4 separate regions of the Homo sapiens genome follow, and regions 1, 2 and 4 are each linked to region 3. The links are contacts of gene promoters, found by promoter capture Hi-C in blood cells and fetal thymus (Javierre and others, 2016). All regions are on one chromosome and are shown on one strand. The core of a region is centred on a gene start or on the middle of the fragment in contact, and the rest is flanking DNA. Distances in the headings are between cores, read along the strand shown. Region 1 has its middle 18 kb from the start of UQCRHL. Region 2 overlaps AGMAT (agmatinase (putative)). Region 3 holds the start of FBXO42 (F-box protein 42). Region 4 has its middle 8.3 kb from the start of DDI2.

What was found. Contacts are between HindIII fragments. The CHiCAGO score rates a contact against its expected background, and 5 or more counts as called.
Region 1: a contact is called between a fragment that was not itself captured here and the fragment with the promoter of FBXO42 in region 3, in 1 of 17 cell types (fetal thymus). The highest score is 5.3, in fetal thymus.
Region 2: a contact is called between a fragment that was not itself captured here and the fragment with the promoter of FBXO42 in region 3, in 1 of 17 cell types (activated CD4 T cells). The highest score is 5.2, in activated CD4 T cells.
Region 4: a contact is called between a fragment that was not itself captured here and the fragment with the promoter of FBXO42 in region 3, in 1 of 17 cell types (activated CD4 T cells). The highest score is 5.3, in activated CD4 T cells.

Annotation. Positions count from the first base shown.
Region 1 is chr1:15,822,110-15,829,240 of GRCh38, reverse strand. It overlaps the pseudogene RPS16P1. Among named protein-coding and RNA genes, the nearest start is that of UQCRHL, 18 kb to the right of the region's middle. The HindIII fragment of the contact is 2,551 bases long and covers 3,191-5,741 here.
Region 2 is chr1:15,578,071-15,584,606 of GRCh38, reverse strand. AGMAT (agmatinase (putative)) reads left to right here. Exons shown (of 7, transcript NM_024758.5): 2 at 1,212-1,414; 3 at 4,465-4,513; 4 at 5,553-5,748. Among named protein-coding and RNA genes, the nearest start is that of AGMAT, 3.7 kb to the left of the region's middle. RefSeq lists an enhancer at 14-63. The HindIII fragment of the contact is 2,557 bases long and covers 2,643-5,199 here.
Region 3 is chr1:16,350,611-16,357,068 of GRCh38, reverse strand. It overlaps FBXO42 (F-box protein 42), which reads left to right and starts at 4,589. Exons shown (of 10, transcript NM_018994.3): 1 at 4,589-4,814. RefSeq lists an enhancer at 4,550-5,324. The HindIII fragment of the contact is 4,914 bases long and covers 1,315-6,228 here.
Region 4 is chr1:15,605,816-15,612,532 of GRCh38, reverse strand. It overlaps the pseudogene LOC124904764, the pseudogene RNU7-179P and the pseudogene CD24P1. Among named protein-coding and RNA genes, the nearest start is that of DDI2, 8.3 kb to the left of the region's middle. The HindIII fragment of the contact is 1,771 bases long and covers 415-2,185 here.

The DNA of each region.
Region 1 (7,131 bases), core at 3,217-5,716, 530 kb after region 3:
GTCTCTACTAAAAATACAAAAACAAAATTAGCCGGGCGTGGTGGAGGGGGCCTGTAGTCCCAGCTACTCCGGAGGCTGAGGTGGGAGAATGGGTGAACCCTGGAGGCAGAGCTTGCGATGAGCCGAGATTGCGCCATTGCACTCCAGCCTGGGCAACAGAGCGAAAGTCCGTCTCAAAAAAAAAAAAAAAAAAAAAAGAGGCCCAGGGTAGAAGCAGGAGCCAAATGAATCGGCCATATCAGTAATCCAAGTGAAGGGGAGGGTGGCTTTAATGACCAAAATATATCCTGGAGATACATATAGAGAGAGAGAGAGATTTTTTTTTTTCAGATGGAGTCTTGCTCTGTCACCCAGGCTGGAGTGCAGTGGCATGATCTCGGCTCACTGCAGCCTCTGCCTCCTGGGTTCCAGCGATTCTCCTGCTTCAGCCTCCTGGGTAACTAGGATTACAGGCACATGCCACCACACCTGGCTAATTTTTGTGTTTTTTGTTTTGTTTTGTTTTTTAACTTTAAAATCCCTCAAAAACTGTTTATTATACAGGTGAATTTTGATAGTCATGATGGGCTTATCGGTAGGATTTCTGGTAGCGAGCATGGGCACCAGGGCCTCCAAACTTTTTGGACTCCCGGCAACGAGGATCAGCTACCAGCAGGGTCTGGTCATACTGGATGAGGATGTCTTTGATCTCCTTCTTGGAAGCCTCATCCACATATTTCTGGTAGTAGGCCACCAGGGCTTTGGAGATGGACTGATGGATAGCATAAATCTGGGCCACGTGACCACCACCCTTCATACGGACACAGATGTCCACACCAGCAAACCGCTCCTTGCCGAGAAGCAGAACTGGCTCCAGCAGCTTGTATTGTAGCATGCGCAGCTCAATCATCTCCAGGGGCCACCCGTTCACCTTGATGAGACCATTGCCGCGTTTGCAGTGCGCCACAGCTGTGGCTGTCTTCTTGCGTCCGAAGACCTGCACCGACTGCAGCGGGCCCTTGGTCGGCATGGCTGCGGGCGTGGACTAGAGTGAGTGTGTTTTTTTGTTTGTTTTGTTTTGTTTTTTTGTTTGAGACGGAGTCACACTCTGTCGCCCAGGCTGGAGTGCAGTGGTGCGATCTCGGCTCACTGCAACCTCCGCCTCCCAGGTTCAAGCTATTCTGCCCCAGACTCCCAAGTAGCTGGGATTACAGGCATCTACCACCACGCCTAGCTAATTTTTGTATTTTTAGTAGAGACGGGGTTTCACCATATTGGCCAGGCTGGTCTCGAACTCCTGACCTCACGTGATCTGCCTGTCTCAGCCTCCCAAAGTACAGGGATTACAGGCATGAGCCACCGCGCCTGGCCGTTTTTTTTGTTTGTTTGTTTGTTTGAAACAGGGTCTCACTCTGTCGCCGAGACTGGAGTGCAGTAGTGCAATCTCGGCTCACTGCAACCTCCGCCTTCCAGGTGCCTCAGCCTCCTGAGTAGCTGGGACAACAGGTGTGTGCTACTACTGCCTGGCTAATTTTTTTTTTTTTGAGATGGCGTGTCACTCTTGTCGCCCAGTGTGGGCGACATCATGGCTCACTGCAACCTCCACCTCCCGGGTTCAAGCGATTCTCCTGTCTCAGCCTCCCAAGTAGCTGTGATTACAGGCATGTGCCGCCACGCCTGGCTAATTTTTTGTATTTTTTAGTAGAGATGGGGTTTCACCGTGTTGGTCAAGCAGGTCTCAAATTCCTGACCTCCCAAAGTGCTGGGATTACAGGTGTGAGCCACCGGGCCCTGGATATATTTTAACAGTAAATCCAAGCAGACTTTCTGGTAGGTTGAACCTGGGATTGATAAAAAGAGGAGGCAAGGATGAGCCAAAACATTTTTTGACCTGGGCAACTAAAAGAGTTGTAATGAAGGAGGACTGGATAGAGCAGTTCTGCAGGGGAAGAGCAGAAGTTCAGTTTGGGCATGTTCAATTTGAGGTGTTTATTAGATATCAAAGGGAGACGCTGGTGGGCTATTGGATATATGGGTCTTGATTTAGGAGGAAGTTCTGGAGATGTATATTTTTATATATGCCCTTTTTGTATATTATGTATATTTGTGTGTGAGAGAGTTATCCTATATATAGCTAGCATTTAAAAGCCTCAAACCGGATGAGATCACTAACATAAATATAGAAGGAAATAGGATAAAGGAAGCCCTGAAGCACTCCACTGTTAAAAGGTCTGAGAAGAAGGTTTGCAAAGCAGGATGAGAAGGAACAACCAGTTAGGTCGGAGGATAACCAGGAAAGGGTGGTGTCCAGGAAGTCAAGAAAGTGGAGCAGGTGGCCTGGCAGGGTGGCTCACACCTGTAATCCCAGCACTGTGGGAAGCCGAGGCAGGCATATCACTTGAGGTCAGGAGTTCGAGACCAGCTGGCCAATGTGATGAAACCCTAACTCTACTAAAAAAACACAAAAATTGGCCAGGTGTGATGGCTCATGCCTGTAATCCCGGCACTTTTGGAGGCTCAGGCGGGCAGATCACCTGAGGCTGGGAGTTCGAGACCAGCCTGACCAACATGGAGAAACCCCTCTCTACTGAAAATACAAAATTAGCTGGTTGTGGTGGCGCATGCCTGTAATCCCAGCTACTTGGGAGGCTGAGGCAGGAGAATCGCTTGAACCTGGAAGGCAGAGGTTGCGGTGAGCTGAGATTGTGCCATTGCACTCCAGCCTGTGCAACAAGAGTGAAACTCCATCTCAAAAAAAAAAAAAAAAAAATTAGCTCGGCTTGGGCAGGGCTCGGTGGCTAACGCCTGTAATCCCAGCACTTTGGGAGGCCGAGGCGGGCAGATCACGAGGTCAAGAGTTCGAGACCAGCCTGACTAACATAGTGAAACCCCGTCTCTAGTAAAAATACAAAAATTAGCCGGGAATGGTGACGCACAGGAATGCTGGCTCGACAGGCTGAAGCAGGAGAATTGCTTGAACCCGGGAGGCGGAGGTTGCAGTGAGCCGAGATCGCACCACTTCACTCCAGCCTGGATGACAGAGTAAGACTCGGTCTCAAAAAAAAAAAAAAAAAAAAGTGAAGGGAATGGTCAACTATGAAATGCTGCTGAGAGATTAAGCTGAGGCATGAAAATTGAGTGTTGTATGAATAAGTGGAAGTCATGGGTGACCTTGACACAAGCTGTCTGGGTGGAGTAGGAGGCAAAAGCTTGATTGGAATGGATTGAAGAAAAAAAAAAAAAAAACAGTAAGTATGACCTTTGGAAAAGTCTGACAGTGAGGCTTAGAGGGGAAGATGCCAGAGACTGTGATGTTGGAAAGTACCTTCTGTTTTAGGAAGTTCCTGGGTCAGTGCAGCAAGAGGGAACTCAAAACCTTAGGGCTTCTGGAGGAATTGTTACACTCCCAGGATGTGGTCTCCTTCTACCCTCATATCTGCTCCATGATAACATGAATAATAAATTATTTCTTGGCTGGGAGAACTCCAGCTCAAAAGATCCTGCTGCCTCTGTCTCCCAAAGTACTAGGATTACAGGCGTGAGCCACTGTGCCCGGCTGTATTTTTCTTTACTTTTTTTTTTTTTTTTTGAGACAGAGTCACGCTCTGTCACCCAGGCTGGAGTGCAGTGGCCTGATCTCTGCTCACTGCAACCTCTGCCTCCCAGGTTCAAGTGGTTCCCCTGCCTCAGCCTCCTGAGTAGCTGGGATTACAGGCATGTGCCACCACACCCGCTTAATTGTTGTATTTTTAGTAGAGACGGGGTTTCACCATGTTGTCCAGGCTGGTCTCGAATTCCTGACCTCATGACCCACCTGCCTTGGCCTTCCAAAGTGCTGGGATTACAGGCGTGAGCCACCGCACCCAGCCATAATTTTCTTTTTAAAAGACTTTCTTCCCCCATATTGGACCCTGCTCTAGTTCTACCACATCCCAGTGAACAACAGTGAAATAAAAAGATTGTCTACGTGCTTAATTTGAAAACGTGGGTTGGGCACGGTGGCTCACACCTGTAATCCCAGCACTTTGGGAGGCCGAGATGGGTGGATTGCCTGAGGTCAGGAGTTCAAGACCAGCTTGGCCAACCCGGTGAAACCCCATCTCTAATAAAATACAAATATTAAGGTTGGTCGCGGTGGCTCATGCCTGTAATCCTAGCACTTTGGGAGGCTGAGGCAGGCAGATCACCTGAGGTCTGGAATTCAAGACTAGCCTGACCAACATGGAGAAACCCCGTCTCTACTAAAAATACAAAATTAGCTGGGCGTGGTAGCTCATGCCTGTAATCCCAGCTACTCGTGGGGCTAAGGCAGGAGAATCACTTGAACCCAGGAGGTGGAGGTTGCAGTGAGCTGAAATCGTGCCACTGCACTCCAGCCTGGGTGACAGAGTGAGACTCCGTCTCAAAAAAAAAAGAAAAAAAGGAAAACAGATATATCACTTTGGGGTCAAGCTCCACCTTCAGAATTTCATAAATTTTTTTTTTTTGAGACGGAGTCTTCCTCTGTCACCCAGGCTGGAGTGCAGTGGTGCAATCTCGGCTTATTATAGCTGCAGCCTCCCAGGTTCAAGCAATCTTCTGCCTCAGCCTCCCAAGTAGCTGGGATTACAGGCATGCGCCACCACAGGCGGCTAATTTTTTTTTTTTTTTTTTGAGACACAGTCTAGCTCTGTCACCAGGCTGGAGTGCAGTGGCGTGATCTCGGCCCACTGCCACCTCCACCTCCCAGGTTCAAGCGATTCTCCTGCCTCAGTCTTCTGAGTAGCTGGGATTACCAGCACGTGCCACTGCGCCCAAGTAATTTTTGTATTTTTAGTAGAGACAGGGTTTCACCATGTCGGCCAAGATGGTCTCTATCTCCTGACCTCGTGATCCGCCCACCTCAGCCTCCAAAGTGCTGGGATTATAGGCGTGAGCCACCGCGTCCAGCCTCATTTTTGTGTTTTTTAGTAGAGAAGGGGTTTTGCCATGTTGGCCAGGCTGGTCTCGAGCTTCTGACCTCCAGTGATCTGCCTGCCTCGGGCTTCCAAAGTGCTGGAATTAGAGGCATGAGCCACCCAACCCAGCTCACCTTCAGAATTCTATGTACTGATAAATATAATCAAAAGTCAAGTCCAGGCTCGGTGGCTTACCCCTGTAATCCCAGCACTTTGGGAGGCCAAGGCAGGTGGATAACCTGAGGTCAGGAGTTCAGGGCCAGCCTGGCCAACATAGTGAAACCCCATCTCTACTAAAAACACAAAAAATTTCCTGGGTATGGTGGCACGCCCCTGTAATCCCAGCTGCTCCGGAGGCTAAGGCAGGAGAATTGCTTGAACCCAGGAGGCAGAGGTTGCAATGAACAGAGACCACACCATTGCACTCCAGCTTGGAAAACAAAAGTGAAACTCCCACTCAAAAAAAAAAAAAAAAAAAAAAACAAGTCAAAATGTGTATTTTCTTTTTTTAATCATCCGGCTCAGCCTCCTGAGTAGCTGGGACTACAGGTGATGCCACTACACCCGGCTAATATTTTGTATTTTTGATAGAGATGGGGCTTCTCCATGTTGCCCAGGCTGGTCTCCAACTTCTGAGATCAGATGATCCACTCACCTGGGCCTCCCAAAGTGCTAGGATTACAGGCGTGAGTCACTGTGCTTGGCCAATTTGTATTTTCAATGTATTACTTTATCATTCTTTATTGGAACATGTGATTAAATACAGATATAAAGTATCATGTATATTTTATCCTGCAACATTTATGCCTAATAGCTATTGAAGCTTTTTTTTTTTTTTTTTTTTTTGAGATGGAGTTTCACTCTTGTTGACCAGGCAGGAGTGCAATGGCACGATCTCTGCTAACTGAAACCTCCACCTCCAGGATTCAAGCAATTCTCCTGCCTCAGCTTCCTGAATAGCTGGGATTACAGGCATGCGCCATCACGCTGGGCTAATTTTGTATTTTTAGTAGAGATGGGGTTTCTCCATGTTGGTCAGGCTGGTCTCGAACTCCTGACCTCAGGTGATCCCCCTGCCTCAGCCTCCCAAAGTGTAGGGATTACAGATGTGAGCCACCGTGCCCAGCCAACAATTTTTTTTTTTTTTTTTTTTTTGAGATGGAGTCTTGTCACTCTGTCGCCCAGGCCGGAGGGTGATGGTGTGATCTTGGCTCACTGCAGCCTCAACCTCTAGGGTTCAAGCCATTCTCCTGCCTCAGCCTCCCAAGTAGCTTGGACTATAAGCATGTGCCACCACACCCAGCTAATTTTTGTATTTTTGGTAGAGGTGGGGTTTCACCATGTTGGCCAGGCTGGTCTGGAACTCCTGACCTCAGGTGATCTGCCCGCCTTGGCCTCCTAAAGTGCTGGAATTACTGGCGTGAGCCACTGCGCCCAGCCCACAATTTTTTATTTTTTGATATTTGTCACTTTGGATGAAGCCTAGCAGTAGTATATGGTTAAGTGTACATTTTCTAATTATTTATGAAATGTTGCTCTCCAGCTTATGTAGAATAAGGTCTTCACCTGTTTTTCCTTTGTCCTAGCACACACTATACTTCTGTCATTTACATTGATTTATACTGGTAGTGATTGAGGGATTGGATTCAATTTTGGGGCATTGGGAGGCAGATGTTGCAGTGAGCTAAGATCACACCACTGCACTCCAGCCTGGGGGACAGGGAGAAATTGGGGGTGGTTGAGGAAAGCTGTCTTCTGAAATGGAATATCAGGATTTCGAGGGATTCTGAGATATCCCTTGAATTACCTACTTCGTGGGACCTTTCTCACTCCTCCTAAGAATCACTGATGTGGAACTTAAAATACAGCTGAGGAAAAATCATTTCTTTTCTTTTTTTTTTTTTGAGACGGAGTCTCGCTCTGTCGCCCAGGTCACAGAGTGCAGTGGTGTGATCTCGGCTCACTGCAAGCTCCGCCTCCCGGGTCCACGCCATTCTCCTGCCTCAGCCTCCGGAGTAGCTGGGATTACAGGCGCCCGCCACTAGGCCCGGCTAATTTTTTTGTATTTTTAGTAGAGACGGGGTTTCACCGTGTTACCCAGGATAGTCTCGATCTCCTGACCTCGTGATCCACCCGCCTCGGCCTTCCAAAGTGCTGGGATTACAGGCGTGAGCCACCACGCCCGGCCCGGAAAAGATCATTTCTTTAACAAACT
Region 2 (6,536 bases), core at 2,672-5,171, 770 kb after region 3:
TGGCCCCGGGTCGAGTTGGAAGCTGGTGGCCGGCTCCAAAATGCCCCTTATGGTTTGAGATGGTTGATTTACCTGGACCCTCAATAAGCAAACCCCAGGGCTCAACATGGGCGTGGCCTCCCACATCTTAGTGTCATCATTGGTCAAGAAGGGATTTTGGCCGGCCCGGTGGCTCATGCCTGTAATCCCAGCACTTTGGGAGGCTGAGGCGGGCGGATCACGAGGTCAGGAGTTCGAGACCATCCTGACCAACATGGTGAAACTCTGTCTCTACAAAGGTACAAAAAAAAGAAAAAAAAAGCCGGGCATGGTGGCGCGGGCCTGTAATCCCAGCTACTCGGGAGGCTGAGGCAGGAGAATCGCTTGAACCCGGGAGACGGAGGTTGCAGTGAGCTGAGATTGCGCCACTGCGCTCCAGCCTGGGCAACAGAGTGAGACTCCGTCTCAAAAAAAGAAAAAAGAAGGGATTCTGGAGCCTGAACCTTCTCTGTGTCCCCATCCTGGGGCCTTGCTGGGATGGCTGCTGTGGATTCCTCCCCTCTCCTCTCCCCAGCTTACAGTGGCAGGTGACATTGCATTTGAGAGCAGAAACTGGCTGCCCCTTCCCCAAATCTGAAGATGTCACCTGACTCAAGAAATGCTCAAATGAAGGCAATTTTCCTAGGATCAAGTCGGAGGAAGCAAAATTCATCTTCCTAGTTATTGAACGTCAGCAATTTCTGATTCAGCTCAGCAACACTATATCTGACCGTACTGATCTGAATTATGAAAGCCAGCACTTATTAAATGTCTCCTAAGTGCAAGGTGCTTTGCATAGATTACCTCATTTAATTTTTACTACAGTGCAAGGTAAATATTTTACAAATTAGGAAACTGAGACTCAGGTAGATCATGAAATTCACTAATGCCATTTAGTACACTTATTTAGTCTCTTCGATACATAGCCTAGATCGGTGATTCTCAAGTGGGGCGGTTTTGCACTCCGGGGACATTTGGCAGTATCTGGAGGCGTTTTGGGTTGTTACACCTTGGAGGAAGGGTGCTACTGGCACCTAGTGAGTACAGGCCGGGATGCTGCTAAGCATTCCATTATGCAATGCCGCGACACGGAATCATCTGGCCCCAAATTGCTGAGGCTGAGAAGCCCTGGCCTAAGCAAAGCCTGAAATCTCTGCAGATGATGGCTGACAGGATGATTCTTCCTTCTGCAGATTCGGACCTCGCCGCATCCGGGAAGAATCAGTGATGCTTGGGACAGTCAATCCTAGCACGGGGGCCCTCCCCTTCCAGTCCCTCATGGTTGCAGACCTAGGCGATGTGAATGTCAATCTTTACAACCTTCAGGACAGCTGCCGGCGAATTCAAGAGGCCTATGAGAAAATTGTAGCAGCTGGCTGTATTCCTCTGACCTTGGGTAATGTCAGTCTGCAAGAGCCAGAGTAGTTCCCTGCACTCAGGGTTTACTTATCCTGTACTCAGGGGCTTGAGTACAGCTACTTCTCCCCTGCAAGCCACTGCAAATGTGCAGACAGTAGGAAAGAGAGCATTGTAATTCATTTATTTTAATCCCTGGGGAGAGAATATTTCACGTGTGTGTGTATGTGTGTGTGTGAGACAGTCTCACTCTGTTACCCAGACTGGAGTGCAGTGGTGCAATCTCGGCACATTGCAACCTCCACTTCCTGGGTTCAAGCAATTCTCCTGCCTCAGCCTCCCAAGTAGCTGGGATTACAGGCGCCCACCACCATGCCTGGCTAATTTTTGTATTTTTGGTAGAGTCGGGGTTTTGCCATGTTGGCCAGGCTGGTCTTGAACTCCTGACCTCAAGTGATCCGCCCACCTTGGCCTCCCAAAGTGCTGGGGTTACAGGCATGAGCCACCGCGCCTGGCCAAGATGATGTTTCTAATGACTTTATTTGCGAGGAGAACTGCAAAGAGGGTGTTTTTGTCCTGCTCAGGGTCTACATCAACCTATAGGGCAGCTTTCCCCTTATCCTCACCCCTGACCCACTCTCACTTTTTCTCTTGTTCACAAATACTTAAAATGACAGGGATCTTTTCCTAAATATCCAAATTCATTTTTGCCAAGTTAGAGAGCCTAGCCTGCATGGCATAGTGGGAGGAGTGTGGTTTCCCGATGGCATGGTTTGAAGTCTCAGCTGCACTTCTCCCTAGCAATGTTGCTGTATACCGTGCTTGATGCTTCACACCCTCACCTGTAAGATGGGAATGATCACAGTAACACCTACTCACTGCATGATGTGAGGGGCATATAATGAAAGTGCACATGAAATGCCCAGCATCAAGCATGGCATATCTTTTTTTTTTTTCTTTTTTTTTGAGACAGAATTTCACTCTTGTTGCCCAGGCTGGAGTGCAATGGCACGATCTCGGCTCACTGCAACCTCCGCCTCCCGGGTTCAAGCAATTCTGTCTCAGCCTCCTGAATAGCTGGGATTATAGGCGCCCGCCAGCATGCCCGGCTAATTTTTATATTTTTAGTAGAGACGGGGTTTCATCATATTGGTCAGGCTGGTCTCGAACTCCTGACCTCAGGTGATCTGCCCACCTCGGCCTTCCAAAGTGTTGGGATTACAGGCGTGAGCCATTGCGCCCGACCTATGCATGGCATATCTGAAGCTTCAATAAATGTTAACTGTTATTATTATCAGAAAGAATACTTTCCTAGGTCTGTGCTGTCCAGTAAGGTAGCCACTAGCCACATGTGGCTACTTAAATTCTTTTTTTTTTTGAGACAGAGTTTTGCTCTTGTTGTCCCGCTTGGCTCACGGCAACCTCCGCCTCCTGGGTCCAAGTGATTCTCCTGCCTCAGCCTCCTGAATAGCTGGGATTACAGGCGCGTGCCACCACGCCCAGCTAATTTGTTGCATTTTTAGTAGAAATAGGGTTTCAACATGTTGGCAAGGCTGGTCTCGAACTCCTGACCTCAGGTGATCCGCCGCCTCAGCTTCCCAAAATGCTGGGATTACAGGCGTGAGCCACCACGCCCGGCCTAAATTCAAATTAATTAAAATAAAATATTCAGTTTCTTAAGTCATATTAGCTACATGTATGTCACATGTGTGTCACATGTGGATAGTGGCTACCATATGGGCCAGTGCAGATAGAACATTGTCATCATCATAGAAGGTTCTATTGAACAGAGCTATTCTAGGCATTTTCCTAGAATACTGTGAAAAGGCAATTCCTAGAGTAGCTCTTAACTTGTCTAATTTCCTCTTTTATTTATTTATTTTTGAGACACGGTCTCACTCTGTCACCCAGGCTGGAGTGCAGTGGTGCCGACATGGCTCGCTGCAACCTTGCCCTCCCTGGGCTCAGGTGATCCTTCCACTCCAGCCTCCCGAGTAGCTGGGTCTACAGGCGTTTGTCACCATGCCCAGCTAATTTTTGTATTTTTTGCAAAGACGGGGTCTTAATGTATTACCCAGGTGGACCTTGAATTCCTGGGCTCAGGCGATCTGCTTGTCTTGGCCTCCCAAGGTGTGAGCCACTGCGCCTGGTCTATTTTTATTTTTATTTTTTAGAGACGTGGTCTTGCTGTGTTGCCCAGGCTGGTCTCAAACTTCTAGGCTCAAGCTATTTATTTATTTATTTTATTTTATTTTTTGAGATGGAGTTTCACCCTTGTTGCCTAGGCTGGAGTGCAGTGGCGCGATCTTGGCTCACCGCAACCTCCGCTTCCTGGGTTCAAGTGATTCTCCTGCCTCAGCCTCCAGAGTAGCCGGGATTACAGGCATGCGCTACCATGCCCGGCTAATTTTGTATTTTCAGTAGAGACGGGGTTTCTCCATGTTGGTCAGGCTGGTCTTGAACTCCCAACATCAGGTGACCTGCCCGCCTTGGCCTCCCAAACTGCTGGGATTACAGGCATGAGCCACCGTGCCCAGCAAGCTATTCATTTTTTTGAGATAGTGTCTTACTCTGTCGCCCAGGTTGGAGTGCAGTGGCACGATCACAGCTTACTGCAGCCTTGACCTCCCAGGCTCATTCAGCATCCTGCCATTCTATAAGATCTTACTGTAGCTGTGGTTATAACTCCCCCCAGGCTGAAAGGGTGAAAATTGAGTTAAGATTATTCAGCTGGGCATGGTGGCTCATGCCTGTAATCCTAGCACTTTGGGAGGCCAAGGCGAGTGGATCACTTGAGGTCAGGAGTTTGAGACCAGTCTGACCAACATGGTGAAACTCCGTCTCTACTAAAAATACAAAATTAGCCAGGTATGGTGGTACACACCTGTAATCCCAGCTACTCGGGAGGCTGAGGCAGGAGAATCGCTTGAACCTGGGAGGCAGAGGTTGCAGTGAGCCGAGATTGTGCCATTGAACTCCAGCCTGGACAACAGAGCAAAACTACATCTCAAAAAAAAAAAAAAAAAAAAAAGATTATTCTATGTAATCCTCCAATTCACTTTCCAGATGTTTTCTTCTTCCTCTTTGCAGGTGGAGATCACACAATCACATATCCCATATTGCAAGCGATGGCAAAAAAGTAAGTCTCAAATGGCTTGGGCCCAGCAAGATTTCAAAAGCCAGAAGCTAGGGAATGAGTTATTTGCTGTTTGGTGGCATTAGGTGACTGCTGCTGGCTCAGGTTATGAGCTGCTTCTGGGGATCAAAATTAAGGTTGAGCTCCAGGTGTCTCTGTCAGTCAGCAGCTAGAAGCCAAGACAATTTATTATTAACAGTTCTGGCCACCCTCCCTTGCCCTAGATCTCTCCTGGTATGTGTGCTCAGCATTTTCAACTTGCTTCTGTTTTTGGAAGATGAGCCTCTAGTGAAATACACAACCTCAGTTAACTTCAGTTTCTGTTTTGCTTCAATGGCCAAAAACAAACACTGACAGGCACAATGGTGGACCTTGCTGAGAGGCCCTTGTTTCCTCCTGAAAGGGCACCTTTCTCAATCAAAAGACTGATTTGCCAGTAGTGGAAGTCTACCCAGGATTGGCCGACTTTGGCTAATTTAGTTTGAGAAAGAGACAGAAGGACCCGGGTGGAGGGTGGCAGCTCCAGAATGTGTCTGTGGAAGCACATGTGGGTGGCATTCTGGTTGGAGGTGGGAGGGTGCAGGTCTTTGCTCAAAGCTGCATTTATTCCTCACGGATTTGGATCAGATGTTTATTTTGGGTGGCTGGCAGGGGTTGATGGAGGTTATGGAGAGAGCTGGATTAAAGCTTCCTCTTCCTCGGTTGGAGAAAGGGTGTGTCTTGGTTTAGTTAAGCCTTCAGCCAAGCTCCCCTGTGCCACCACCCTTGATTCTCATCCTGTCTCTAAGTGAAGCAAATTCTGGGTGATAGGTGTGGGTGGCAGCCAAAACATGTCTATTTCCTGCCTGACTTCTGTGAGTTTATTGTTCCTCTGAGATGCAAAGTGATCTCAAGAAGACAGGAACCAGTTGCAAGGCAGAAAACGGATGCCAGGTCTCCCCTTTTTGGCTGTGAATTGTCACCAAGTTTTGGTGGCCCGAAGGGTGGCTGTGCTAGGGCCCCACAGGGAGGGTTGGCCTCTGAGCTGCCCTGTTGTCATCAGGCATGGCCCAGTGGGGCTGCTGCACGTGGATGCGCACACGGACACGACCGACAAGGCCCTAGGAGAGAAGCTCTACCACGGGGCGCCCTTCCGCCGGTGTGTGGATGAGGGTCTCCTGGACTGTAAGCGTGTGGTGCAGATTGGCATCCGGGGCTCTTCCACGACCTTGGATCCCTACAGATACAACCGGAGCCAGGTGACAGACCGAATGCCCCCCACCCTTGCCCCTCAAAATGTCTTCCTCTCCGTTGCCTCACCAGTGGCAGCCAGGGATTGAGCGGGGGCTTTACTAATCAAGTCTGAAGCAGGGATACAAGGCTGAGTTTGCATCATCAGGGGCATAAGGAGCATAGGAGTGAGGAAGTTGGTTTATGGGCCATGGGAAGTCTATCGCTGGGCGGGGGAGACAAGCAGAAATCGACCAACCCCTCGGACGGTGCTGGCTTAGAAGAGGGGAGGAGGCCGGGCACAGTGGCTCACACCTGTAATCCCAGCACTTTGGGAGGCTAAGGTGGGTGGATCACCTGAGGTCAGGAGTTCGAGACCAGCCTGGCCAACATGGTGAAACCCCGTCTCTCCTAAAAATACAAAAATTAGCCAGGTGTGGCGGTGCGCACCTGTAATCCCAGCTACTCGGGAGACTGAGGCAGGAGAATTGCTTGAACGTGGGAGGTGGAGGTTGCAGTGAGCTGAGATCGCGCCACTGCACTCTAGCCTAGGTGACAAAGTGAGACTCCATCTCAAAAGAAAAAAAAAAGAGGGGAGGAAGTCCGGACCCAAGATGAGTTGCCACCTTCTTAGTTCTGGTCCTCGTACCCTCTAGGCAGAATGGCTCTCAGATAGACGTGTATGACAAGACCCCAATGGAACAGACCCAAATCCCTTGCTTTTAGAGCGTGCCAAGGCCAGTCTTCTGGACAGAGCAATTCAAAAGGTGCTAGCGTGAGCTGCTGTTTCCCACTCTTGCTTTAGCAAAGCTTCTCT
Region 3 (6,458 bases), core at 3,340-5,839:
ATTCAACAAATATTTAGTGAGTCCCTACTATGTGCATCTCTATGTCAGGTGCTGGTGGAAAACAGACAAAAATCCCTGCTGTCCTTGAGTAAGAAGATTCAGGGTGAAGTGATTCTGTATTTGAACGTATTCTAACATGGTCCAGCAGTTCCAACCCTGACTGCTCAACAGAATCCCTGAGGAGCTTTCAGAAAAGTCTGAGGCCATTGTTTGAGGTGGGCCCTGGAACCTGCATTTTAATTTATTTTTGTAGAGATGGGGTCTTGCTATCTCGCTCAGGTTGATCTCAACTCCTGGCCTCAAGTCAGCCTCCCATGTCAGCCACTGAAAGGGTTGGGATTACCAGCGTGCAACACTGCAACTGGCCATGGAACCTGCATTTTTACTTTTACTTATTTTTTTTTTTTTGGAGACAGAGTCTCACTCTGTCACCCACGCTGGAGTGCAGTGGCATGATCTCAGCTCACTGCAACCTCCACCTTCCAGTTTCAAGTGATTCTTGTGCCTCAGCCTCCCGAGTAGCTGGGATTACAGGCACATGCCACCATTCCTGGCTAATTTTTGTATTTTTAGTAGAGACGGGGTCTTACCATGTTGGCCAGGCTGGTCTTGAACGCCTGACCTCAAGTGATCCACCTGTCTTGGCCTACGAAAGTGCTAGGATTTTTTTTTTACTTTTTTTTGTTACTTTTACTTTTTTTTTGAGACAGAGTCTCGCTCTGTCACACCAGGCTGGAGTGGAGTGATTATAGCTCACTGCAACCTCAAACACCCTGGCTCAATCAATCCTCCTACCTCAGCCTCCCAAGTATCTGGGACTATGCAAGCTACTCTGGAGGCTGAGGTGGAAGAATTGATTGAGCCCGGTTGGAAACTTCCTTCCTCAAAAAAAAAAAAAAAGTAGCATTTAATAGCTGGTCCAGTGTTTCCAATATTGAGCTCTACAGGATATTTGGAGGGGGAAGAGTGGAGTTGGTCACAAGTTCTAGTAATTTTTTTTTTTTTTTTTTGAGACAGTCTCGCTCCGTGGCCCAGGCTGGAGTGCAGTGGCACAATCTCAGCTCACTGCAACCTTCACCTCCTGGGTTCAAGCAATTCTCCTGCCTCCACCTCCCGAGTAGCTGGGATTACAGGTGTGTACCACCAAGCCTGGCTAATTTTTTGTACTTTAGTAGAGACAGGGTTTCAGCATGTTGTTCCCATGGTGGTCTCGAACTCCTGAGCTCAGACAATCTGCCTGCCTCGGCCTCCCAAAGTGCTAAGATTACAGGTGTGAGCCACCGTACCCGGCTCAGTTCTAGTAATTTTTAAGCTTGAGGTTTTTAATGACATGATTTAAAAACTAGATTTAAAAACCAGATTTAAAAATATTTCCTTTACCAGTTATAATTGCCCAATTTCTCTTTTGCAGTAAAATTTCCTAGTTGAAAGACTTGATTTTCTTTATCTTTTCTTTTCTTTCTTTTTTTTTTTTTGAGAGGGAGTATCGCTCTTGTTGCCCAGGCTGGAGTGCAATGATGCGATCTCGGCTCACCACAACCTCCACCTCCCGGGTTCAAGCAATTCTCCTGCCTTAGCCTCCCGAGTAGCTGGGATTACAGGCATGTGCCACCACGCCTGGTTAATTTTGTATTTTTTTTTTTAGTAGTGATAGGGTTTCTCAATGTTGGTCAGGCTGGTCTCGAACTCCCGACCTCAGGTGATCCGCCTGCCTCGTCCTCCCAAAGTGCTGGGATTATAGGCGTGAGCCGCCGCGCCTGGCCAAAACATGATTTTCTTAAATCAATGTTTCTCCCACTGGGATTCCCTGAGTGTATCCCTAGGGGACTTTGCATTATTCAGGTTTGAAGAACGTAAGAATATACTGCTTTCTATTTATTTATTTGAGATGGGTTCCCTCTATCACCCAGGCTGGCGTGCAGTGAGGTGATGATAGCTCACTGCAACCTCCAACTCCTGAGCTCAAGCAACCCTCTGCCTCTGTCTCCCAAGTAGCTAGAACTACAGGTACACATGCCACCATGTCCAGCTAATTTTTCAACTTTTTGTAGGGATGGGGTCTTGCTATGGTGCCCAGGATGGTTTTGCATTCCTGAGCTCAAGCGATCCTCCCCTCTTGGCTTCCCAAAGTGCTGGGCTGACAAGTATGCACCACCGCCTCTGGCTCATACAGCTCTCTATGGGTAAGGGTGACCCAAGTCTGCTCAAAGAGGCCTTGCCCTCCAACTTGAGGGGAACTTGGCTTCTGGCCCAGCCCTATGCCCCATGAGATTTCCTAGGAGGAAACTTTGTAAAATATTTGAAGAGATTTATTCTAAGCCAAATATGAGTGACCATGGCCCATGACACAGCCCTTGGGAGATCCTGAGAACATGTGCCCAAGGTGGTTGGGAAGCAGCTTGGTTTTATACATTTTAGAGAGACATGAGACATCAATCAAATACATTTAAGATATATTAATACAGGGCCAGGTGCAGGGGCGTATGCCTGTAATCCCAGCACTTTGGGAGGCCGAGGCGGGTGGATCAACTGAGGCAAGAGTTCGAGACCAGCCTGGCCAACATGGTGAAACCCCGTCTTTACTAAAAATACAAAAATTAGCTGGGTGTGGTGGCACATGTCTGTAATCCCAGCTACTCAGGAGGTTGAGGCACGAGAATCGTTTGGACCTGGGAGGCAGAGGTTGCAGTGAGTGGAGATCACACCACTGCACTCCAGCCTGGGCGAAGAGTGAGACCCTGTCTCAATAAATACATAAAAAGGCCAGGCGCCGTGGCTCACACCTGTAATCCCAGAACTTTGGAAGGCCGAGGTGAGTGGATCACGAGTTCAGGAGTTTGAGACCAGCCTGTCCAAGATGGTGAAACCCCGTATTTTCTACTGAATTTTGTATTTTCTACTGAAAATACAAAAATTAGCTGGGCACGGTGGCGGGCGCCTGTAATCCCAGCTACTCGGGAGGCTGAGGCAGGAGAATCGGTTGAACCCAGGAGGCGGAAGTTGCAGTGAGCGGAGATGGTGCCACTGCACTCTAGTCTGGGCGACAGAGCAAGACTCAGTCTCAAAAAAATAAACAAATAAATAAAAATAAGTAAATAAATAAATAAAAACTACATTGGTTCGGTGCAGAAAGACCGGAAACTTGAAGTGGGGGCTTCCACATTATAGGCAGATTTAAACATTTTCTGATTGGCAATGAGTTGAAATAGTTATTATCAATAGGCCTGGTGCGGTGGCACACGCCTGTAATCCAAGCATTTTGGGAGGCCGAGGCAAGTGGATTACTTGAGCTCAGGAGTTTGAGATGAGAGTGGACAACATGGCGAAACCCTGTGTCTACAAAAAAAATGGAAAAATTAGCCAGGCATGGTGGTGCCCGCCTGTAGTCCCAGTTACTCAGGAGGCTAAGGTAGGAGGATAGCTTGAGCCTGAAAGACAGAGGTTGCAGCGAACCAAGAACTCATCACTGGACTCCAGCCTGGGCAACAGAGTTAGACCCTGTCTCAAAAAAAAAAAAGTTATTATCAATAGAAATGAATGTCTGGGTTATGATAAGGGATTGTGGACACCAAAGTTTTATCACGCACGTGAAGCCTCCAAGTGGCAGGTGGGCTCCAGAGAGAACAGATTGTAAATGTTTCTTACCAGTCTTAAGGTCTGTTGTGTTGATGTCAATGCTGAAGGATGTAATGAGGCATGTCTCATGTCCTGCTTCCCGTCATGGCCTGAACCAGTCTCTCAGGTTGGTTACATTTTAGACTGCCCTGGCCTAGGAGGAAGTCCGTTCAGATGGTTTGGTGTTGGGGGGGGGGTGGGGGCTTAGTTTTTTGTTTTGTTTTGTTTTGTTTTTTTGGCTTACAGAGTTTAGACTGAAGCCTTTGACTCTGTATCTGGCATTTCCTTAGACCACATGCTGTAGGGCTGGGCTCATGAAGGTTCTCACCTACACACCAGGTTGCTCCCTTGAGAAGGGGGACTTTGCTGGATCCTATAACCTAGCTAGTAGGAAGTAAAGGAGCTTGGGAACCAGACAAGCCTGAGTTTAAATCCTCTTTCCCGCGCCGCCCCACCTCCACTGATAGGTGTGTGACTCCGGGCAAATAAGTGATCGTTTTCTGTGCCTCAGTTTCCTCATCTGAAAAGTGGAGCTAGTAAGAACTCACAGTGGTTGCTACGAGGCTACGGTTAAGGGAAGACTTCTCCTGCACACCTCAAGCACAGTTTCCCTCCCCTTGGCGATATCCAAGAGCACTCACATCCGCCACAGCCCTCTCTGCTCATCGGGCCCTCGGGGTAGAAGTGAGTTAATTCCTGGCTAAATGTTAGTCTCAAACCACCGGGAAAACCACCCAGTTGCCCCAGACAGTGCAGCGGAGGGTGGGTGCGGCTATCAGGTCGACGCTAGAGACGCGGCGAAGGCGGGTGCGGAGGCCTAGCTCCCCCGAGCGCATTCCACCCTCCACAGAACCTCGGCCTGTGACCACGGCCTTTCTCAACACTGCGCCGCCCCCTGGCCGCCCCTCGCCATCCCGCCGCGCTGACGTGAGTGCGCGCGCGTCCGCCGCGCCCGCCCCGGCGCATGCGCGCTCTGCGCTGTCTTCTCCCGGCCTGAGCAGCAGCAGCTGCGGCGGCGGCGGCGTTTGAGTGGAGGAAGATGGCGGCTCCGGGCGGCTCGGGGTCCCGCCAGCTGTGAGGAGCCCCGAGCACGGCTGTCGCGGCCTGAGGCAGAGCGCCTCTGCTCTGGCCCTGTCCCTGGCTCCCTCATTACCGTCGCCAGCGGAGCGAACCCGAGAGCGTGGAGCGGGCTGGGCCAGGTGAGGCCTCTCCTCCTCCCCGGGCCGCAGAGGGGAGCCGGCGCCTTCTGCCCTTTATGCCCGGGACTGGCAAGGGGCAGCGGGCGCCCGGGGTCTGACGCAGGCCCCGTATCCCACGCGGGGGTCGGTCCTGGTTGGGCAGGGTGACTTGCTATCGCCGTCCTCGAGTGAGGCGAGGAGGAGGACAGCTCCTTTCCAGCCAGCCCTTGGGTTGGGAGCGAACCCACCCCCTCTCCTCAGCAGGGTGGTTCTCGTCCCCTCACCCGGGCAGTGAAGGGGTGTGTGGCCCGGGCAAGGATGGCTTTAGGGTGTCAGGTAATCTTTCATCGCTCCTCCGAACATTTCACTCCTTTGCGAGAGAGGAGTCGGGGGTCGGGTGCCCATCAAAATTGGGGCTGCGGCTGGGGGCTAGCATCTCTGAACCTGCAGCTGCAAAGGGATAATTTTGGAATTGGTTTACGTTAAATAAAACACAAAAGGCCTTTCCTATCCCCTAGCTTGTTGAGTGTTCCCTTAGAGAAATGGGAACTGCGGATCTCCTTGCTTGAGACAGCAATCCATGCTGTGACTGTGGAAGGCTTCTCTTGGCGAGAATTGTGTGTGCAAAGGGAACGGTGGAGGGTGGGAACGAATTTGTAAGCGAAGAGAAAACGATTGTGAGATCTTGATGGTCGCTGCAGAGTAACTTCAGCGCTGAGTTCGTTTGAAACCTTCGGTTTGTTAAGATTCAGAATAACCAATTGCTTTGTCTGTTAAATCTCCCGATTTCTGTTAGGAAAATAAAAGCCTCATTTCTTAATTGCCAGAGTCTGGATTTTTCTGTGGTGGGATTCTGATCGATCTAGATGAAGATTCTGACACATTACCAGTTTTACTTGCTGGCAGTTGCTGGCCCCGACGTTGAAACTATGTTGTTCCTTTTTGAGAACAACTTTTATTGCTGTTTAAATGCTAATTGGGAGACTTCGATTGTGTTTCTGTCATGTAGGGAAGTCGGTTTGAAGCCTTGTGGTCTCTTTCTTGAGGAATGATGGCTTCACTGAACTTGTGCTATGCAGAATTGTTGAGGCGATTGCTTTTGCTTGGACACACCAAAATATCTTTTGTAACAAATTGGCTTTACTTCTGCTTAAGAATGATGACATCATGGATTTAAAGAGGCAAGGAAAATTTGGGGGAAGTACCATCATTTAGAATTGAATATTTAGAATTAAGTCTGTATATCTTATGGCCATTAGTGATGCTGTGTTAAATTGCTAACTTTGAGTGTATTCACGTGTGTAATCTGATTGGGTGTCTTTTCTATTGTATGTTGTCATTTTATACCCAGTAACTGTTTGCTTTTGACAAGCCAGTATAAATAGATGATTCAATCTACATTGATCCATAGGCATGTTGCGTATCTTAAAAAGCTTTTCATTGTTAAAATGACAACTGTTTAGGTTATTATTTGACCATTTTCTTTCTTTCTTTCTTTCTTTCTTTCTTTCTTTCTTTTTTTTTTTTTTTTTGCAGTTTCTCACTCTGTCATCCAGGCTGGAGTGCAGTAGCACAGTCTCGGCTCTCTGCAATCTCCATCCCCTGGGTTTAAGCGATTCTCCTGCCTCAGCTTCCTGAGTAGCTGGGATTACAGGTGTGCGCCAC
Region 4 (6,717 bases), core at 51-2,550, 740 kb after region 3:
GGTAGGATGATCACTTCAGCCCTGGAGGTCAAGGCTGCAGTAAGCCATTATCATGGCACTCCAGCCTGGGTGACAGAGCAAGATCCTGTCTTAAAGTTTAAAAAAGCTTCCATCGGCTGGGTGCAGTGGCTCACACCTGTAATCCCAGCACTTTGGGAGACCAAGGCGGGTGGATCACAAGGTCAGGAGTTCAAGACCAGCCTGGCCAAGATGGTGAAACCCCATCTCTACTAAAAATACAAAAAATTAGCTGGGCACGGTGGCAAGTGTCTGTAATTACAGCTACTCGGGAGGCTGAGGCAGGAGAATCGTGTGAACTCGGAGGGTGGAGGCTGCAGTGAGCTGAGACCGCACCACTGCACTCCAGCCTGGAAGACAGAGTGAGACTCCGTCTCAAAAAAAAAAAAAAAAGCTTCCATCATTCTATAAATCCTCAATGTATTATTTCAGCAGTACTAATTTAATGCCAATATATTAAGTTTTACATTGTTAGGCTATCACTGTTCTTTTGGTAACTGAATTCTTTTTCCTCTGAGGATTTGGATTTGACATTGCATTTGACCTTTTATTTAGTAATTGACATGTGCCAGGGCAATGATAGACTGCAATCTACCCCCAAGTCCAAGCATCATCAATAACTCTTGTTTATCCTTAGAGAGTCAAATGGTAGGCATTTCATTTCACCTATTTTCGTTCAACAAGGACACCAGATTCATTAAGGGGCTGGGTGCGGTGGCTCACCCCTGTAATCCCAGCACTTTGGGAGGCTGAGGCAGGTGGATCACTTGAGGTCAGGAGTTCGAGACCAGCCTGACCAACAAGATTAAACCCTGTCTCTACTAAAAATACAAAAATTAGCTGGGCATGGTGGTGTGCCTGTAATCCCAGCTACTCAGAGGCTGAGATAGGAGAATTGCTTGAACCTTAGAGCCAGAGGTTGCAGTGAGCCAAGATCATGCTACTGCTGTCCAGCCTGGGAGACACAGTGAGACTCCATCTCAAAAAACAAAAAAAGATCTGTTTTGAAGGTAAAATTATAAACCTTGAAATTAAAAGGGCAAAAATGTAAAGGAGCCAAAAACTGTATATCAAGTATTTGGAAAGTAAAGACTGAAAGTTAACTTGCATTAAAGTCACAAAAACTTTTATACTCTTTTCTTTTTCTTTCTTTCTTTTTTTTTTTTTTGAGATGGAGTTTCACTCTTGTTGCCCAGGCTGGAGTGCAATGGCATGATCTTGGCTCACCGCAACCTCCGCCTCCCAGGTTCAAGCGATTCTCCTGCCTCAGCCTCCTGAGTAGCTGGGATTACAGGCACGCACCACCACGCTCGGCTAATTTTGTATTTTTAGTAGAGATGGAGTTTCTCCATGTTGGTCAGGCTGGTCTTAAACTCCTGACCTCAGGTGATCTGCCCGCCTCAGCCTCCCAAAGTGCTGGGATTACAGGCCTGAGCCACCGTGCCCAGGCTATACTCTTTTTCTGTAAATGCTTTTTGCAAACAACAACTATGGATCAGAATAGCTGCATTTAAAACACATTTTGGGGCTTTTTTTTTTTTGAGACAGAGTCTTACTCTGTCGCCCAGGCTGGAGTGCAATGGAGCGATCTTGGCTCACTGCAACCTCCGCCTCCCAGGTTCAAGTGATTCTCCTGCCTCAGCCTCCCGAGTAGCTAGGATTACAGGTGCACAACACCACACCTCGCTAATTTTTGTATTTTTTGTAGAGACGGCATTTCACCATGTTGGCCAGGATGGTCTTGAACTCCTGACCTCGTGATCTGCCCACCTCAGCCTCCCAAAGTGCTGGGATTACAGGCGTGAGCCACCGCACCCAGCTGGGGCCTTTTTTTTTAAGAGACATGGTCTCACCCTGTTACCCAGGCTAGAGTTCACTGCGGCCTCAACCTCGTGGACTAAAGCAATCCTCCTGCCTCAGCCTCCCAAGTAGCTAGCACTACATGCGTGTGCCACCATTCCCAGCGAATTTTTATCTTTTTGTAGAAATAGGAGTCTTTCTATGTTCCCAAGCTGTTCTTGAACTCCTAGGCTCAAGCAATCCTCTTACCTCATCTCCTAACGTGCTGGGATTACAGACATGAGCCATCATGCCCTGTTTGAAACACATTTTGTTATGTCAATATTTTTAGATAGTTAGAACCTGGTCCTAAACCGCAAAGTAAGCTTGATTCTGTAATAAAAATGTTTACAACTGTCTTGACACACAGAAACCTTTTTAAAAATAGACACTCCCTGAAGTCCTTTGTTCACAAGGTCACACACTGATGCTTATGTGTTCCAGCATCTAATATGGCCACAGTAGTCTTTTTTTTTCCATCTTTAGAAACCTACACGGGAACAGCAGATGGAACAGATCTGAACCCACTCCACTGTGTGTGTGAATGAACACTCCCTTTTGCTCCATGCCGAAATGCTGTACATCTATTTTGGATTGTATATTTGTGTGTGTATGCTTTGATTCATAGTAACTTGTTATGAAATTGATTTGTATTGAATACAAACTGCAAATAAAAATAAATCAATGGCTGAAAAAAAGTCAGTACAGCTTCTCCGTGATTCTCTTGGAACGCTTGCTCTTGGAACCCAGCAGCCATGCTGTGAGGAAGCCCAAACTACACCACACGGTGAGACCGCATGGAGAAAATACGTGTGGTTGTTCCAGAAAGCTGCTCAGCTGAGGGGAAAGCTGATTAGCGGGAAAACTCACCAAGCACAGAAGTGAAGACACTTTCAGATGACTTCAACCCCCAGATGTTGAATCATCTCCAACTTATGAGTCTTTCCAGATGAGGCTTCAGACATTATGGAGCCGTCTCCACTGTATTGCCTTTGAATTTCTGACCTACAGAAACTATAAGCATAATAAAATAAAAATACAAAGTAAAACCAAAATGAGATACCACTTTATGCTCACTAGGATGGCTATAATAAAAAAGACAGAGTTGGGCGTGGTGGCTCATACCTGTAATCCCAGCACTTTGGGAGGCCAAGGCAGGCAAATCACTTGAAGCCAGGAGTTCGAGAGCAGTCTGGCCAACACGGTGAAACCCCATCTCTACTAAAAATATAAAAATTAGGCCGGATGCGGTGGCTCATGTCTGTAATCCCAGCACTTTGGGAAGCAGAGGAGGGCGAATCCCGAGGTCAGGAGTTCGAGACCAGCCTGACTAACATGGTGAAACCCCGTCTCTACTAAAAATATAAAAATTAGCTGGGCATGATGGTGTGTGCCTGTAATCCCAGCTACTTGGGAGGCTGAGGCAGGAGAATTGCTTGAACCCAAGAGGTGGATGTTGCAGTGAGCCGAGATCGTGCCATTGCACTCCAGCCTGGGTGACAGAGTGAGACTCCATCTCAAAAAAATGAAAATAAAAAAATAAAAATTAGCCGGCTATAGTGACATGCGCCTATAACTCCAGCTATTCTGGAGGCTGAGGCAGGATAATTGCTTGAACCCTGGAGGTGGAGGTTGCAGCGTGCCGAGAATGTGCCACTGCACTCCAGCCTGGGGGACAGAGGGAGACTCTGTCCAAAAAGATACTCAAAAAAAAAAAAAAAAAAAAAAGGCAGATGATAACAAGTGGTGATGAGGATGTGGAGAAATAGGAACCCCTAATAGACTGCTGGCGGGAATGTAAAATGGTGCAGCCACTTTGGAAAAAAGTTTGACAGTTCCTCAAAAAGTTAGACATACAGGATAGGCACAGTGGCACATGCCTATAATCCCAGCACTGTGAGACTGAGGTGGGAGGATCACTTGAGCCCAGGAGTTGGAACCAGCCTGGTTAACATTATGGGACCCCATTTCTTAAAAAAAAAAAAAAAAAAGGTGGGGGGGCCAGGTGCAGTGGCTCACGCCTGTAATATCAGCACTTTGGGAGGCTGAGGCAGGTGGATCACTTGAGGTCAGGAGTTCAAGACCATCCTGGCAAACACGGTGAAACCCTGTTTCTACTAAAAATACAAAAATTAGCTGGGTGTTGTGGCACACGCCTGTAGTCCCAGCTACTTGGGAGGCTGAAGCAGGAGAATTGCTTGAACCTGGGAGGTGGAGTTTGCAGTGAGCCGAGCTTGCACCACTGCACTCCAGCCTGGGAAACAGAGCAAGACCCTGTCTTAAAAAACAGATAAACAAGCAAACAAACTTAGACAAAGAGTTACCAAATGATCCAGAAATTCTACCCCCCAAAATATACCCAAGAAAATAAAAATATATATCCACGCAAAAACTTGTACATAAATGTTCATAGCAGCATTAGTCGTAATAGCCAAAAGTAGAAACAAGTATCCATCAACTGATGAATGGATAAATAAAATGTGGTATATCCATATAAAAGAATATTATTTGGCAACCGAAAAAGAAGTATTAGTGCTACAGTTCTTTTAGAATTTGTCTAGCAGGGCCAGGCGCGGTGGCTCACGCCTGTAATCCCAGCACTTTGGGAGGCCGAGGCGGGTTGATCACGAGGTCAGGAGTTCAAGACCACCCTGGCCAAGATGGTGAAACCCCATCTCCACTAAAAATACAAAAAATTAGCCGGGTGCAGTGGCAGGTGCCTGTAATCCCAACTACTCAGGAGGCTGAGGCAGGAGAATCATTTGAACTCGGTGGGCAGAGGTTGCAGTGAGCCAAGATCGTGCCACTGCACTTCAGCCTGGGTGACAGAGTGAGACTCCATCTCAAAAAAAAAAAAAAAAAAAAAAAAAGAATTTGTTTAGCAGGTTTTCTGGTCTTCACTGGAAAGCCCCTTTAAAAAAATTAAAATAAAAGTATTGATATATACTATCACATAGATTAACCATGAAAATGTTATGCTAAGTTAAAGGAGCCAGTAACAAGAGATATATACTGTATGAGTCCAATTATATGAAATATCCAGAAAAGGCAGTCCATAAGAGACAAAGTTTATTTTATTTATTTATTTATTTTTGAGGAAAAAAAATAAAACCTGCCACCACGCCCAGGTAATTTTTTTTTTTTTTTTTTTTTTTTTTGCGATGGAGTCTTGCTCTGTTGCCCAGGCTGGAGTGCAGTGGCGTGATCTCGGCTCACTGCAAGCTCCGCCTCCCGGGTTCACGCCATTCTCCTGCCTCAGCCTCCCGATTAGCTGGGACTACTGGTGCCCACCACTGCGCCTGACTAATTTTTTGTATTTTTAGTAGAGAAGGGGTTTCACCATGTTGGCCAGGTTGGTCTCAAACTCCTGACCTCAGATGATCCACCTGCTTCAGCCTCCCAAAGTGCTGGGATTACAGGTGTGAGCCACCGCACCTGGCAGACAAAGTTTATTAGTGGTTGCCTAGGGCTTGTGGAGAATCGGGGGATGGCAGTATATGGGAAGTGACTGCTAATGGGTATAGAATATCTTTTTGGAGTAATGAAAATGTTCTAAAATTGATTTGTGGTGTTTGTTATACACACCTGTGAATATACCAAAAACCACTGAATTGTACATTTTATTTATTTTTTGAGACAGAGTCTTGCTCTGTTGCCCAGGCTAGAGTGCAGTGGCGCGATCTCGGCTCACTGCAACCTCCGCCTCCTGGGTTCAAGTGATTCTCTTGCCTCAGCCTCCCTAGTAGCTGGGATTACAGGCATGTGCCACCATGCCCGGCTTCTTTTGTATTTTTTAGTAGAGAGAGGGTTTCTCCATGTTGGTTCGGCTGGTCTTGAACTCCCAACCCCAGGTGATCCACCCACCTTGGCCTCCCAGAGTGCTGGGTTTACAGGCGTGAGCCACTGCGCCCGGCTGAATTGTACATTTTAAATGGGTGATTTTGTGATATGTGATTTAATCTCAATAAAGTTGTTAAAAATTAGTTTTGAAAAGTTCACACTGGCTGTTGAGAATGGGTTGTACCGGGCAAAAGGAGAAACACAAAAATGTTAATGGGGCTAGAAAGGTGGTGACAAAAGAGAGAGAAGCAGGTGAATTAGAGAGATACTTTGAAAAGTCAACAGGACTTGCCAATGGGTTGGACCTGGAGAATGAGGGAGAGGGAGGAATGACTTCTGAGTTGAGGGAAAGTAAACCCAAGAAATGATACACGATCAATAAATCCCAGTATCCAAGAAGTACTCTGTGTTGTACTAGGATTCAGATCCAAGATTCAACTCCTTGGAATGGGTTAGGGTTGGATTTAGGATATTTTACAACACCCTCCCACCTAGATCCAACAAGCTTTTGTGGCAGACCCGCCTGCTCACAGTTCTGCTCACTGAACTCTCCCCACCACCCCCTGCCTCTCTTAAGAGAATCACTTCTGTAGCAGAGTTCCCACAGCTCTGCCCCTCAGCTGCTTTCCTCTTGGGCCTCACCCCTTTTGGACTCTGCTCAATAGCGTCTTGGGATCTGGCTCAGAGTGTAGACTCCTACTTTTCTCATCACTCTATGAGACACACTTTGAACCTCCATTACCTGTGACCATAAATGGCTAGAGATATTTCCAGTCCTTAATTTTAAGTCAGGATGGGGTGGAGTGGAGGTTGAGAGCAGGGAGAGCTCAGAAACCAGAATCCTGCTCTAGACCAGCAGTGCTACCAAGAAGAATAGGTCCCATTTATCGATCAACGCTGTGCGTCAAGCACCTTCCAAATGATTGCTAACATTTCCAAATATTGACTTTGTGCCGGACACTCTTCTAAGCACTTTATGTGTATTGAGTCACTTAATTCTCACAGAAATCCTAGGAGGTA